Linked DNA regions of Homo sapiens: region 1 is linked to region 2. Evidence: promoter capture Hi-C in 16 types of primary human blood cells and fetal thymus (Javierre and others, 2016). All regions are on one chromosome and are shown on one strand. The core of a region is centred on a gene start or on the middle of the fragment in contact, and the rest is flanking DNA. Distances in the headings are between cores, read along the strand shown. Region 1 overlaps KANK1 (KN motif and ankyrin repeat domains 1). Region 2 holds the start of DMRT2 (doublesex and mab-3 related transcription factor 2).

What was found. Contacts are between HindIII fragments. The CHiCAGO score rates a contact against its expected background, and 5 or more counts as called.
Region 1: a contact is called between a fragment that was not itself captured here and the fragment with the promoter of DMRT2 in region 2, in 1 of 17 cell types (monocytes). The highest score is 5.6, in monocytes.

What each region holds. Positions count from the first base shown.
Region 1 is chr9:583,941-586,640 of GRCh38, reverse strand. The region is part of intron 1 of KANK1 (KN motif and ankyrin repeat domains 1); the gene reads right to left. Among named protein-coding and RNA genes, the nearest start is that of KANK1, 81 kb to the right of the region's middle. The HindIII fragment of the contact is 787 bases long and covers 1,051-1,837 here.
Region 2 is chr9:1,049,107-1,051,606 of GRCh38, reverse strand. It overlaps DMRT2 (doublesex and mab-3 related transcription factor 2), which reads right to left and starts at 1,250. Exons shown (of 4, transcript NM_181872.6): 1 at 832-1,250; 2 at 1-37. RefSeq lists an enhancer at 609-1,478. The HindIII fragment of the contact is 13,820 bases long and covers 1-2,500 here.

The DNA of each region.
Region 1 (2,700 bases), core at 195-2,694, 470 kb after region 2:
AATGTCTATCATACTTACTCAGACCACTCCATAACACACACATGGCTTTTCTCCTAAAACTGTTAATGGCAGTTCCCTGGGACTAAAACCTCGGAACTGTTTTCAAGTCATCTCTCTCGTCATTACCTTCCACTAACAGTCACCACCACTTTCCCCGAATGTCCAGCTGCTCTCTACCCCTTCTTTTTCACTCCTATCACACTGCTGAACCCAACTTCCTTGGCATACCTCATCTGTTTATAACAAGAGCCTCTAACTTGGACCCTCTGCAGATCACAGCCTATCCACTCTCTCTTACAGAGAAATTGCTTTCATCCTATTCCTGTAACCTTGAATAGGCCTGGGCCCATCCCCTTGACTGTAAAATGAAGAACTGGTCTCAACATTCTCCATCCTCACTGTGCTTTGAAGTCAGATGTCACTGGGCATGAATCCTGGTCCAGCCACTCTGCCAAACTTAGACAAGTATGTCTGCTCAAAATTCCATCTCACTATGCATAAAATGGGAACTAGTACATCTACTCCAAAGCTTGCTGTAAAATAATAATGACATCTTATGCCTTACAGATCACACAGCAGGTACTCAACAATATTGCTTATTCCCATCCCACCTTACAGAATCCCACAAACTTTGAAGTTCTCTTGTCTTATAACTTCCAAACCTAACGTTTTCTTACATCTACATCCCTAGTGATAATGATTTTCTCTTCCATCACATATAAACTCCCCTGTTGACCTTCAGTTCTTCCATTATCTATCACTACTTTATCTTCCTTTAATTTCCAATAAACGTCTTCTATTCAATCAGATTAGTCTGATCATTTTCCCAAGAACAAACACTTACACCCTGCCTTTGTGCCCATCAGTTCCCCATAGACTTTTCTTACCCCCTCTTTCAAGGCCCAGTTTGAATCCGAAGCCCCAGCAATGCCGACCTCGCAAACAATTTAACCCTCACACAATGCCTTAACATTATTGTCTACTCTTCCATGTTCACCAAGATTAGCTGTCCAGCTGACAAAGACTATTTGGATTATTCTAAGTTAAGCTTTTTACTTCAGTGTGGATTGTATTAGAGTTTTTACAAACTACATATTTTTTGGATCGGTTCTGTCAATGCTTTTTGAAATTCATAGGCCTTTGTGCCTTAAGGTAAGCGTCTTTTATTAATTCCATCATTTTTATTTGAGGCTGATACAAGGAGCTTGTTCCATCATCAATGGGTAGACCATTGGTAGACAATCTGACAGCTGTCTCAGGAAGCCAGATATGAATTCTAAGTATGTCCAATGTCTGTCAGATTTTGTGACAAAGTGAACGTGTTCTAATTGCAAGTACCATTTTAAGACCAAACTCTCAATGGCAGCAAGGATGATGCACAGCGGGCAAAGATGACTTGTTGCTAGAGTTTTACCTGAAGATGATGGTTGAAGCTCCAGGGGTAAATGAAAGTTCTAAGGGGAATCAGTAGAAGACACAGTGAAGGGTCAAGGGACATGGAAGAAGACACTGAGTGGTTACAGAGGCAGGAGAATAACCACAAGGGTGGAGAGGCACACAAGCCCAAAGAGAGTTGAGTAACACATCAAATGCTGCAGATAAGGACAAAATGTCACTGGGTTTAACAATAAGGAAGGGGGTCACTCATGACCCCTAAGGGCAGTTTTCAAAATGGCAGATACAGGATGCTGACTGCAAGGCATTGAGGAGAAACTGGGAGGAAGGCAAACGGAAACAAGCAGAGACTTCCTGCCAAGAACTTTGGCTCTCAAGCCAAAAGGTTTGTGCTGGTCATTTTCTAACCCTGAACTTAACAGCTCAACCAAATACCCAAGCTTGCTCTTCTTCCCTTGGTCCTCACCTGTCCATGTGCAGCGAGCCTGAAAGCTGAAGATAACTGACAGTTGACTGCAAACCCTTCCCGCCTTTTCTCTTCCAGCACCATCCTCACATGCCTGGTTTTGGTTCCCTAACAAATCTTACAGAACTATTCAACAGCTCTATGTTATCAAGTCTCAAATGCTAAGTTATATTCTTCTTCTGCTGTAGGTAAATGATAGTTACTTATTTAACATAAAAGGAAAGACACCAAAATGTGTCAAATCAACAGAACAGAAGTCTAGGTTCAGATCAAATACCATATTACTATCTTTGGATAACCTATGTAATTTATGCTGAATTATTAAAAAATAATTTTTCTTCCTTCAAAGTAGTACTTTGTTCTTTACTGTAAGTTCATAAAAATCAAAGAAAAAATAAAAATCATGAGGATAATTAGCACTTTGTTGAACCGCCTTCCACTTTTATATGTATGCATGACACATAAACATAATACACAAATGTGTAAGTGCATGTAAGTTTCACTAAAAGTAAATCATATGATATTACTTGTAACTTGTTTTTCCCACTTATTCTGATAGAAATTCTGTACCATTTAATAGTCTTGTATGCTTTCATTTTTAATGACTGATCAATAATCCATTTTAATAAATTCCCTTGAAGCACTTAAGTCACCTCTTATTTTTGATTATATATGTAATGCTGAGAAAGATATCCTTCACTATACCATCAAGTATTTGCCTGGGATAAGGTCAAGGTCAAATGTACAGAAAATGTGAGGATCTGATATTGTTAATTTGCCCTACACAATGTTTGACCCAGTGGCACATGACAATACCCACTCCTCCACACCCCCTCTAA
Region 2 (2,500 bases), core at 1-2,500:
GGGGCTTCGCTGGGGCCTGAGCCTGGCGGCCCTCACTCTGGGGAAACACAAAGAAATCCAAAGACCCACCGGCCGCCGTCAGGGACCATCCCTGAGCCTCCGGCCCAAAGCTCCTGGTCTGCCCGCCTCCGGCCGCTTGAGTCATCCTGTTCTCATTACATGTCCCTCACTTCCAGGCCACACGTGCCTTTCCTGTATCTCCAGGGCCCCCAGGGATCCACAACCCAACAAAGGTTTTATTTTATTAATTCTAAGTGCTCTGTGAGTACCTGACCTTTAACCGTGGCCCTCTCTGGCTTTACACGGGCTTTCCGGACAAGTCCCTGGGTAACTCACTTATCACACACACACAAAATATTGTGTCCAAATAGGCAGCCCCAGGCCACTTGTCGGATTTCCCCATACTCAACTAGTATGGCCATGATGCATATAAAACTATCCGTGGAAGAACAGTTTTCCTTTGATTACAAGTGGCCCTTCAGACTCACTGAAGTACCACTCTATGCTTCCCAAATGCCTCTCATCAGCCTACACCACCACAAGGACCCCTCCTTGGGCTTGAAGAGGTCCTCTCACCCCCCTCCCCAAAATACTCAACTGAAAACCAAAATTTTGTTGTCATTAGCGTCCCATAAGGGCAAAGAGCACAATACAGACGCCCGTCCAGCCTTAATAGTACCTGAGGTGCACAGGGCTGAGCCGCGTGGGCTCTCTGTACTTAGGCCTTGGTTTATATATTTAAGGTAAGGCATCCAAGTCACACAGAAAAGGTGAAAGATGATTCACGCCCTTTGCCCTCCCTGACACCCCGAGCGGCATCACAGCACTCACCAAAACTTTGAGGCCCGGGCTGGTAGCCCAGTTAAAAGATATCCAGCTTTAGGATCTGGCGCTAGGGCTGCTGGCTGTGCATGCAAACAGAAATCGGGGTCGCTACCCTCAAACACGAGATCGGGAGCTGATAGCTGGAGGCCCGGAACGAACCCACTGGATGGTGGAGGGGGAGGGAGAAGGTAGGTGGAGGGAAGGAGGGAGGAAGCCAGTCAAGTCCTCAGCGACCTAGCCCAGCACATCCCGAACTCTGCAAAGTTCTGCTCGGTCTTCTGCAGCCTCGGGCGCCTCACCTTGCTGAGGCCGCTTTCGGCTTCCTCTGACCCAGGCTGGGCGGGAAAGGTCGGGCCGCCCCCGCCTGGCTCAGATCGCTGGCTCACCCGGCGGGCGCGCGCAGTTGCATTCAGCGCAGCGCCACTGGCTTCAGTCTGCAGACTGCGCTCCCCTTCCTAGTACTGTCCGCTCAGGCCCCGGAGCTTTACGTCCTCTGATTGGCCGGTTGTCAGGCGGTGTGAATACTGATTGGCCGAGGCACGCTGGCAGGGAGCCCTCCGCCTCCCGCGGTCTACACTCTTCTCTCTGAAGCGCTCCGCCAGAGTCCGCCTACCGGGCCTTCGGTGCAGCCGGCTCGCCTGTCCAGAATCTAAACCCGAGGTATGACGGTGCCTGCAAGAGAGAAGTCACCATTTATCTCGCGGACTGGGAAACAAGCAGAGATACATTCTTAGGAATGCGTTGTCCACAAGAGAAGGTAATAAACGACGAGGAAGAGATCAGAAAGACCAGTATTGGCCTCTATCAGCATCACAAGCATTTCTGCGACTCAATCAATCATTAATCCAAACTGGGCGTAAAAATGATGCCTCTCTTTCGGGGCGTACAGCGACATCCTTCTTTCTCCTGCAAGAGTACATCAATGGTTACCTGGCACCGAAACTCCTAGTTAGCATACAAATAGCCTGTTGATATTTCTGTGTCTAGTGCCACCTATTCTCGAAGTGCCAAATAGCTCCTCATTAACCTTCACCGAGCCCGTGTGGCAGGTGGCCAAGTCGACTACAAGTCACTTACATTTTTCTGTTATATCAGTTGCTATTACAGTTAATGTAGGGAAGATCAGAAATGCATGCTATTAAGAGAATTAGGTAAATCCATTCACACTAAGCATGCATTTAAACAAAGTTATTTTTAAAAAGATGACTACTTTTTAGTGTGCGTAGTTGTATTTATAGACTTTCTAACGACTCCCTCAAAAAATCCTTTACAAAATGTTTAACGATAAAAAATTTTCAACATATTAAAAGAAGGAATTAGTCTTCTAATTCAACGCTGCATTCTATTTCTTGAACTCAATTAAAAATAATATGGGCGCTTTTCTAACTGCATCTGTAAATAATCAAGACCTCTCGAGTAGGATCTGTTTAGGAGACTACAAAATTGGGTATCATTGCACTGAGTACATAGTAGGCCCGCAACAAATATTTGTTGAAGGGTGGGAATTCCTGACGTAATCCCAACGTTACTTTTGTCCGAGTTTGTCAGAATGTTAAAAGTTAACCTGGATCAGAGAAGTGGGAACAAAGGCAGCTTAGGAACTACCGCGACCAGCCAGAAGCACTATTCTCAAACCTTCAGTGATGTTGTAAAGTTCCTCCCCGGTGACCAGGCA